2 separate regions of the Homo sapiens genome follow, and region 1 is linked to region 2. The links are contacts of gene promoters, found by promoter capture Hi-C in blood cells and fetal thymus (Javierre and others, 2016). All regions are on one chromosome and are shown on one strand. The core of a region is centred on a gene start or on the middle of the fragment in contact, and the rest is flanking DNA. Distances in the headings are between cores, read along the strand shown. Region 1 overlaps ZYX (zyxin). Region 2 holds the start of EPHB6 (EPH receptor B6).

Region 1 (3,057 bases), core at 1-2,500, 530 kb after region 2:
TGCGGGAAGAAGAGTCAGGAGGAGAGTCAGGGTGCACTTGGAGAAGAGAGCTGAGCTCCTCAGTGGGGTATTTGAGGGAGTGAGGACTCAAGGCTAGAGATTAGACTGTTGGGAAATCATCAGCGGTCTTGGGATGGCCTGTTTGTGCCCTGTGGTGGGAACACAATGTGAGGAGTTGAGGAGAGAGTGGGTGGTGAGAAGTGGGGCTGCTGGTGTAGCCTGGTCTTAAAGGACTAAGGGAAGGACTGTGTGTCAGTGGTGTGTGTGTGTGTATATATACACATATGTGAATATATGAGTGGCGTGTGTGTGTGTGTTAGTGTGTGGGTGTGGGTATGGTGTATGTGAGTGTATGTGCATGTGTGAGCATGAATGTATGAGTGGCGTGTGATGTGTGTAGTGTGATTGTGTGAAAGTATGTGTATATGAGTACATGTGTGCATGTGTGAGTGAAGGTGTGTGCATGTGTGAGTGTGGCTGTGATGTGTATGGTGTGTGATTGCACAAGTGAAGGTGCACATACATACTTTCTTACAAATACACACAAGTGGCGTATGTGTATATATGTGAGTGGTGTGTGTGAGCGTGTGGTGTGGTATATCTTTTTTTTTTTTTTTTTTTTTTTTTTGGAGACGGAGTGCAGGCTGTCGCCCATGCTTACTACAACCTCCGCCCCCCTGGCTCAAACGATTCTCCTGTCTCAGCCTCCCAAGTAGCTGGGATTACAGGCACGTTCCACCACACCTGGCTAATTTTTGTATTTTTTAGTAGAGATGGGGTTTCACCATGTTGGCTAGGCTGGTCTCGAACTCCTGACCTCAAGTGATCTGCCTGCCTCAGCCTCCCAAAGTGTTGGGATTACAGGTGTGAGCCACCGCGCCTGGCCTGGTGTGGTATTATCTGAATGTGAGTGGTGTGTGTGTGTGTGGTATGGTATATGTGTGAGTGTGTGTGTGTGGTGTGGTATATGTGTGAGTGTATGTGAGTGGTGTATGTGTGTGGTCTGGTATGTGTGTGTGCATGTGAGTGGTATGTGGGTATGTGTGAGGGTGTGTGTGTTTGAGTCTGTGGTGTAGCATATGTGGTTTTTGCAAGTTAGGGGAGAAGGGCTCAGGTACGTGTGTAACCCGGGGAAGCAGGTGATGGAGGGTGAGTGTTGTGGGAGAGCAGGGGCAGGCTGCTTCGGTCCCTGGAGGAGATCTTGGTGATGTCTCCTCCCCCAGAGGCATACCAGACAGCAAGGACAGAGTGGTTGCAGCGTGGATAGGAAGGACGATGAGGGAGCTTAAGCTGGCTGGCTTCCATGTCCTCAACCATGTGGGAGGTGAGGTCACGGTGCGAGCAAAGGGACGAAGCAGGTGGGGGCTCAGGAGATGGAGAGGTCTGGAACGGCTGCTGTGGGGAAGGCTGGGCTGGAGGTCGCGCGGGTGCTGCAGTGTTGTGAGCTCACGCTGCAGTGTTCAGTGATCTCTCCACTGCTTTCTGCAGCTTGGAAGCAGAAACAGGAAGAGGGTGGTGGTGTGACTTGGGGTTGGAGACTGGGCCGGATAGCTGCGGGTGGCTGCAGGTGCCCGGAGGGACAGTGAACCCTGTAGGAGTTAGATGGTCATGGGACCAGGCTGGGGCATGGTGGACAAAGTCCAGGGGTGGGTTGCGGGTGGGGGCAACTAAGGCTTTTCTGGGTTCATGTAGTAGGTGTGGATGGGGAAGAGGAGAGGCAGATAATGGCTGGCAAGAGACTTGGAGGTAAATCTGAGGTCAAGGATGTCCCATGATGGATGATGACTGAGATGGACGGAAGTTTGGTTTGAAGCGGTGGCATTGGTGCAGGCTGGCAGAGGGGGCAGTTCTGGATAGAGTGTCCTGATGAATGGGGATACCCATGGGAGGTGATGCAGATGAGGATTCTGTGCTTCTGAAGGAGGAGCCAGGCATTTAGAATGGCACTGGAGAGCAAGGACTGACTGAGCCCCTTCACTGTGTCCCCAAGAGGCCAGGAAGGGAAGATTGGAGGAGACAAAGTTGAAGTGAGTGTTCCAGGGAACGAGTCAGTTAAGAGATGGTAGGATCTTAAGGGAAGATGGCTAAGATCTTAAGGGAAAATGGCTAAGATCTGGAGAGTTGGACTTATATGGACGCATGCTTCACTGGGCAGAAAGGACGCAACTCTGGGTACAGATGGGGGTCGGGGTGAGGGGCAGTGAAGCCAGGGCTGAGGGGAGAGGGGCTATGGGAGGAGGTAGCAGGGGGGCTTTGGAGGTTCCAGGTGTTATGGGAATGAAGGCATCTGCAGGTAGCACACTCAGTGATGGGGCCACAGTCCTGGGTAGGCTTTTCCAGACATAGAAAAGACCCACCCAGTGCACTTGCTCCTGTGGGCGTGTCTCCCGGCAGTGCTGATGCAGGTCAGACAGCCCTTCCCGGAGTTCTCAGGGTTACCTCTCAGGGTTACTGGCAGCGCTGTCCTTAACATCCACCCCCCACTCCAGTCCCCGGGATCCCCTAAATGGGAAGGTTGGGCTGGCCTAGGGGGTGGCCTTTGGACCTTCTCTGAGGCTGCTGGGGAGGGACCTGAGTGAGGTAGTTCAGAGGCCCCTCACTCGAGGGACAGGGTCTCTGTGTGGGGGTGGGGCTGGGTTCTTGCAGACAGCTCAGTGGGTTTAACCTGCAATTCCTGCCTGTGTTGTATCCTCACGCTGACAGGGGCTGCTCAGCAGCAGGCAGGCCGGGTAGGTGTGTGTGCGCGTGTGTGCACGCCATTGCGTGCCCCTGTCCCATGGGGGCGATGTCCGAGCATGCTCTGTGGAGTTGATGCGTGGCCCTGGAGTGTCCGGTGCTTCAGTGACCCGAGCTGCTGTGTGCGTGGCCTCCGTCCGCCCAGTCATTCTGGCCTGTCTGTGACTGCTCAGGGGGTTTGGGCAGAGTGGGTGGAAATGTCTTGCTGTACGAGATCCAGGCTTAGGTCCCTTCCCCTGTTATTTGTGTGGTGCTGGGGATGGCGGGGGTAGGGGGACGAGGGAGAAGCTTTAAGGGTCAAGCCTGAGCATCTGGGACACG
Region 2 (7,429 bases), core at 1,355-3,854:
AGATTGTTGTGTGCCAGAAATGATTAATTCTGTGAGCCATAAACTTTATTAGGTCCTGCCCATTAGCAATACTCCAGGGTTTTTTTTTTGAACAAGTCAAAAAAAAAAAATATATATATATACACACATATATATATAGAAAGAAACAGGGTCTCACTCTGTCGCCCAGGCTGGAGTGCAGTAGGACAATCTTGGCTCACTGCAACCTCCGCCTCCCGGGTTCAAGCGATTCTCCCACCTTGGCCTCCTGAGTGTCTGGGACTATAGGCATGCATCACCATGCCTGGCTAATTTTTGTATTGTTTGGTAGAGATGAGGTTTCACCATGTTGGCCAGGCTGATCTCAAACTCCTGACCTCAAGTGATCCTCTCACCTCAGCCTCCCAAAGTGCTGGGATTACAGGCATAAGCCACTGTGCCCATCCACATAGAAAAAGTTTAAATATTATTTTTTATTGATTCATTCTATAACACTTCTAAGCACCTGGAGTGTCCCAGGCACCAAACAAATTATAGCAAAAAATTTACATTAAACTTTAAAAAGGAATTCATTACTTTGCTTTTTAATAGCTGCAGGTTGCAGCATACTTTAACAATGCATTCTATGCTCTCCACCTACCATTAAAACTTGGTTTGATAAGACATAGGCAATTAGGATGCAAAGCCGACTAATCACAAATTTAAACCTCTTTGCATCCTGAGTATGACACTTCCTTTGAAAACTAGATGCCTCTCAAATTTTATTAACAAGACAAATATAACTAATTACACAAGCCTTGAGCAGCAAAAACTTCATTTCATATTATAGTCACCTAATATGAGGTATATCATGAAATAGAAAAGAAGGCAGATATTTTTACTGTTATGTCAATACAGGATACGTTGCAAATTACTACAGGAATTTCTGGGTTTTATAAAGTAACAACTACGGTTTGGTTTTGTCCATATTTTTATTTTAACATAATCTAGTTATGTGTCTTTTTTTTAAGTTTTCAATATAACCATAGATGTCTAGCAATCAGGCATGTTAATGTATGAGTTACGTAATTCCACACACAATGCAAATTCTGTTTCTTTGCAGAAGTCTTTGAAAGCCTTGGAGATAACCAGAAAATGAAGGAAGCCCTCCACCACTGAGTTTCAGGGCAAAGGGAAGAAACAAGATAAAGTAGAACCGTCAGTACAAGTGGAATTATTAATGACGTCCAAATGCAGTCATTAAATACTATCAGACTTATTTATTGACTCCTGATATTAAGAGTGAACAAACCCCTGGCCAAGTGGGAACTTGCTCGGTAGCCTTTATCTTTCTATCACTCATTCAGTCAATTCATTAAAGCCTGTTTGTCTCTCCCAGGTGACTCTTACTGAGTTTCATTGTTTTGTTTATTGTGTTTGTTGGCTCATAGATCTCTTTCACAATTTTCTTCGGCTTCTGAATGCTCTTTAAGTACCAGTTTTGATCAGCCCATTTGCTTTAATAAACAGGAGAGCAAGATGGGACAGGGCGATACAGGGAGAAAAGGGGGCAAAGGGAATCGCACCGGGTGCTTGTGCTCCCTAGAAAAACCAGCAGGTGGTAGCAACACTTCGTGGCAAGGCCCCAGCCCAGCTCTGTAGGACCCAAACAATAGACCCCAAATCCCCGTCCTCGGCTAGAGAAGGGGTTAGAGGTGGGCGGAAACACTTTTCCTCGCGGCGCCCCCTCGGTTCCTCAACCCTGCCTCCAGGCGCCAGCTGAGAGCACCTTGCACCGCCCCTCCTCACTGCAGGGAGGTTCTCTCCGGAGCGCGGGCGAGGGAGGAGGCACCCAGAGGTGCAGCGACTTGCCCAAGCCATGTCAGAGCCAGGCGTACAGCAGCGCTTCCCCTTTTCAACCCGACTGCCCTGCCCCTTGGGGAGGGTAGATGGAGGGAGGTTCGACTCAGAAGCCCCAACGTTGACCAAGATCCAGACACGAAAAGAGAAAAGAGTTCCCGGCTAGCACGGCGACGCTTTCATACCGAGACGCCCCCCTCTCCCGCTGCCTCGGCTCCCCCTACCACCGCCCGTACTCTCCCAGATTTCTCAGTTTGTCTTTCCCTCCACCCCCTGCTTTTCCTTCCTTCTCTCTTGCTCAGCTCACGCCCACCTTAGTTCCAAGCTGAGTAGGAGCCCCACTGTTTTAGTTCCTAGAGTTAAAGCCGAAGAGGAGGGAGGCGCGAGGGGGTGTGTGCAGGGCTCTGCCCTGCCCTGAACTGCCACGGTCCGCCAGTTGCGCTTCGCTCCGCGGGTGTCCGACCCAAGCCGAGCCCGAGCCCGAGCCCAGGCAGGGGCTTTACAGACAGCCTCTTCCCTTCCCACTTCCTGCAGGCGCCCCACGCGTGCGATCCTCCCGGCCAAGACCCGCGGGAGGAGGCCGCCCCCTTCCCGGCGCACAGGCGGGGCCCCGGGCGCGCCCCGCGTCTCCCCCGCGCGCCGGGGCGGAGGAGCGGGCGCCGCGCACTCACCGCCTAGGCCGGGAGGGCGGGCTCGGCTCCCCGGAAGAAGGGAGTGGGAAGGCGGCCAAAGGGGCTGAAGGGGCGGGCCGGGCCGGCTTGGGAGGGGACGCGGAGGGGGCGGGCCGGGCTGCGTTCGCTCCAGCCGCGGCTCTACAGCAGCGGGCGGCGGGACCCGGGACCCAGCTTGGCGACGGCGATCTCGACGCGGGCCCCCAGGATCTCCCGGCGCCCCACCTCTGGAGCAGCCCCTGCCGCCAGCGTCAGGTCCACCCCGGAATCCCAGGGACTCTCGGCGCCGAACGGACCCGGGCCGGGTGCAACGGGGTCCCCGGACTGGAGAAGACGCGGGTGGCACCGTGCGAGCTCCAGGAGCCCCGGGTCCACTGCGAGGCCTCGGGGGGCGCAGACCTGCAGAGACTGCGGCCAACGGGAAGGTGAGCCCGCGGGGTTAGCAGGCGGCGTTGTGGGGGTCGGGGACAGTATGCTTGGGGACAGAGGAATTAAGGTTTGCAAGAGTAGTGGGGCTCCTCAGCCCCTAGGTGGCTTCCTGAGGGAGTACTGAGGATCCTTCCTCAAGGCCAGAGTGGGGTTCATGAAGGGTGAGGAAACGGTCAACCTGGCTACTCCCCTCTCACTCCACTCTGACCTGGCATCATTGACACCGCATTACCCTTGCTGTTAGGATCCCCCAGTTGCGTTCCCAGACATTCTCCTCTGGCTCTGGCTTGGGAGTCCTAATCTGGGAGGGTCCTCGCAGAGACGGAGCTCCACGCTTGGAACAGGATTGCCACCCCTCTGACTCCAGTGGCATCACTCCAATCCCCTTGGAGCTGGGAGGAGTCAGGAGGCTGACCACACACCTGTCCCCTGCTCCCCACAAGGCACTGTCCCCCCCAGCTCCATGACCACAGTTAAGCCTTGGAGGTGGAAGGAACGCTTGGTTCCTGCTGCCCAGCCATCACCCCCAACGTGCAACCAAATTCTATTGCGTGCTCCTGCCCCAGCTCCACCCTCGCTCTGCTCCCTCCATCTGGGTGCTTGGCCCTGCTTGCCCCACACCCCCACCCACCGATCTTGGCCGTCTGGCACCCTCTCTCCTCCCATCCCTGGGGGAGCTGGCATGGACCCAGCATAGCAATGTTGTAATGTCCCTGGCAGCGCCCATGGAGCGGAGCTGCTGGGTCTGTTCCCAGTTAACCCAGGCCCTCCGCCCGCCAGGGGAACTTGACTGAGGCTCTAGGAGGGGAGATGCTGGTCCTGAGCTGAGAGACCAGTGGGAGGGAGCTGTGTGGGGCTGTTAGTAGACCACAGAAGCTGCCCAAGTAAGGGGCATTGGAGCATTGAGGCTTCTGAGTGCTGCTCAGTGGGGCCACTTGGCTTTTCAGAGCAGTGGGCCTTTTTTCTCAAAGGAAGATTAGCGTGGGGGTGTCTATGTACTTACCTGGTGGCCTCAGAAGGAGGACTTGTTTGGAGTCTATTACTCCATTCAGGGTGCAAAAAGATGGTTGGCAATGACACTGAGTTACCAGAATGCTGGGGAGCAACAGGCTGGGGTGGGCTGAGCATGGGAAAGGCAGGATCCTCCTTCTGGGACGGCTGTTCTGCTATCACTCTGTCCTGAGCCTGGGCCCTAGACCCTGAGTTCCCACTCTAGGTAGAAGGAGGATGGCAGGTTCTGGAGGGTTTGGGAAGCCTCAGGTTTCCCTTTCTTTACCCACTCCTCCCCGCCCCCCACTTGGCTCCCTCTCCCAGCCCAGGTGTTTCTGCAGAAGTACCTCCTGGGGCCAAGAGCAACTCACAGCCAGACTGGGGGTAGAGCAGGGGCCGAAGGTGAGGAAGAAGGGCCCATGGAACCACTCCGGAACCAGCACTGATGTGCATCTTCTGCCACAGGAAAGCAACAGCCCCCATCTACACAGACAGCATCTGCTCCCGCCCACCTCATCTCATACACATTCCCTTACACACTCCACCAGGTAGACACACATCCTCAGGCACTGCTGACGCAGGTGCTACTCCTGGCACTCAGGGGCTTTCTTCCACAACCTTCCACTTACTCATCTCTCAGGCACATTTGCCTCCTGCCTTAACACCCTCCCTTATGCTCTTTTCCAGAGCCACGCATGTCCCCGGTCAGTGCACAGAGTGGCTCATTCTAAGTGGCTGTCTGGCTAGACCTAGACACTGCCTGCATCTTAAAAGCCTCCCCCAGCTCCACAGCCTGGGAGTGGGAGGCACATTTGTCTGAGTCACAGTGCTCTGGGGGACATTCTCAGGGGCTGGAGGCCTCCAGGGACACAGGACTGTCCTCTGCTAGGTAATCTACAAATTGGCTTCTCCAGCCAAGGAAGCAGGGACTAGAAGAGCCGGAGGACAGCCACCTCCTCACTGTCTGTCCTGGATGCCTCCATGAAGCCTGATGATGGGATCCTTCTCAAGGCAGGAGGCCAGAGCACGAAGAGATCTCCAAGGTGGAGATTAAAGGATAGAGGCTTTGGCATTAAACTGAGCAAGGATTATACTGGAATTTCCTGGGCGTTTAACAGCTGTGGAACAGGATAGGGGACAGGGCCTGTGGTACTGACCCCTCCCACACTGACCTGTGTGGCTCACAGGTGTAAGGACCAGCCCAGCAACCACACCAGACATAAAACCTCGAACCGCTTTGCCCTTGGGACTGTTCTGTCCCTGCTGGACTCTGCAGCCTGCTTTGTCTCACTAAATTGTTCCTGTCTGGGCTCGGTTTGGGGCCATGCCCTTTACTATGTGTTCCCAGTGGACAGTCCCCTGGGTTCCCCTCTGTCCCTTCATAGCCTCATCCCTTTGCTTGACATCGTCGAAGAGAAGCATGCATGATGTCAGCAGCGGGACAGTTGGAACTTCTTGGGAGACAAGCTTAAAGACTAGCCAGAGATAACAATTATTTTGGTTTTCTTGTTGGCATTACTTCACTCATTCATTCTCAGCTCCTACTGTATTTCCACCTCTACCTTCTTCTTATAGATGAACATTTCTTGATATTTTGAAACATAGAAGGAAAATGGCATGGGGAGTGAATAAAATGTAAACGTATGCTTATTTGTCTAGGTTTTACAAATATTTTTCTTTTTTGTTTAGATTTTAATTATGAGATTTTACGTTAATTATAAAAATAAGGTATGCTTACTGTAACAAGAAAAATAATTGAATTATGTGTAAGACAAAATTAATGCCCCCACCTACAATCCTTCATTTCTACCTCCCACAGTAACCCATTTTAATGGCCTAATATGTCTTCTGCCTACCTTCCTCCAAGCTTATTTGGCTTACATTATTTAATCTTTAAAAATTCACTTTGTGGATTGAGGTGCATAAACTATATTAAGTAAGCTTGATTTGCTCATGAAAATATCATATTTAGCATTTAATTGGAGCACGATTAATTTTTTAAATTCTTACCAATTTACCAATTTAATTTACTTTTAAGTCATTCTTTTTTTTTTTTTTTTTTTTTTTTTTTTTTGAGACAGCATCTTGCTCTGTCGCCGAGGCTGGAGTGCAGTGGCACGATCTCGGCTCACTGCAAGCTCTGCCTCCCGGGTTCACGCCATTCTCCTGCCTCAGCCTCCCCAGCAGCTGGGACTACAGGCACACGCCACCACGCCCAGCTAATTTTTTTTTTTTTTTTTGTATTTTTAGTAGAAACGGGGTTTCACCGTGTTAGCCAGGACGGTCTCGATCTCCTGATCTTGTGATCCGCCCACCTTGGCCTCCCAAAGTGAAATATTTCATTTTTATAGCAACATAACTCGTAAGCTATGCTTTGTAACCTATGATTCTACAAATCTTTACTTTTTGCCAGTTTCTGAAAACAAAACACAACCTTGATACCTAAGAAACAGTCTTATTTTTGTAAACCAAAGAGATGTAGCAGGCTTGTGGATCTATTGTCTCTACTGTATCAAAAAGATATTAAGTGATATATCTATAAAAGAAGCTGAGAACATATTATAAAGTCATAGACTGCAATTTTTGTTACCTAAAACTTTGTCTAATCCGTCTCGTTTTCTCCACCATTGTTTTATGTTCACATTTCTGCTGCTTCTGGTTTTATATTTTTAAAACCTTATACACATCTGAAATGTGAATATTTTTCTAAAGGAGATAAGTTCTTTTGCACATTCTTGTGTTAGAGAATTTCTAAATACTGACCAGTTCCTTTTGTAAGTCAGAGGAGAGAGGACTCTCAAGCAGGCTGTGAGAGAGGAGCAAGGGGCCTGGCTTTGCAGAGGCTGCTTCCCATCTCTGTGGCAGGAGAAATGTACTGGCCTGTCCCTGGGATGCTCTCCTGGACCAAATGCAGAAGATGCTCCATGCCCACAACCATTGAAGACACCTTTGAAAAATCAAGTTCTGAGTCCTGCTTACTTAGCATTCCAGGCATGTGGAGCAGCCGTGTTCTTGTCACTTATGTTTCTGCCTTTGAAATTGGCTTCAAAAGAATCTGCAGTGGTATGAATTTGCTGACAGCAATTTATTCCATATCTTAATAAAGCTTCCTTTTTCTTTATTTGGATTCCTGCAACAGGGGTACACCCATATTCTTTTTATATATTAAAATTAAAAGTCTTGAATTTATCTGGTTTGTTTGATAAGTAAGAACTCACCTAACTTCCTAGTCTGACTCAGCAACAATTTTTTTTTTCTGAAAAAATGTATTTATAACCTTCAGTCATCTGGATCTGAATCTAAAAGAGGTCCTCATCAAACATTAGAAGTATCCTTCTGGGTACTTTAAGATCCTCAACCATTTCTTTTTAATGAATATCTTTGTTCTTAGTAAAATTTCAAAAAATTGCTGAAGTGGTCATCCACAGGCAGTGTCTCCATTTTCTTCTTTTCTTTATGCTGTTTCTTGATGGCAGAAGCTGAGTGGCCTTAACATCCATGTTTCATAATTGCTTTTGCTC

The links. The method cuts DNA at HindIII sites, captures the fragments that hold promoters and counts their contacts. A CHiCAGO score of 5 or more calls a contact.
Region 1: a contact is called between a fragment that was not itself captured here and the fragment with the promoter of EPHB6 in region 2, in 1 of 17 cell types (naive B cells). The highest score is 5.9, in naive B cells.

What each region holds. Positions count from the first base shown.
Region 1 is chr7:143,385,059-143,388,115 of GRCh38, forward strand. All of the region lies in intron 5 of ZYX (zyxin), which reads left to right. Among named protein-coding and RNA genes, the nearest start is that of MIR6892, 3.9 kb to the left of the region's middle. The HindIII fragment of the contact is 3,543 bases long and covers 1-3,022 here.
Region 2 is chr7:142,852,472-142,859,900 of GRCh38, forward strand. EPHB6 (EPH receptor B6) reads left to right here and starts at 2,605. Exons shown (of 20, transcript NM_004445.6): 1 at 2,605-2,914. The HindIII fragment of the contact is 5,828 bases long and covers 1-5,373 here.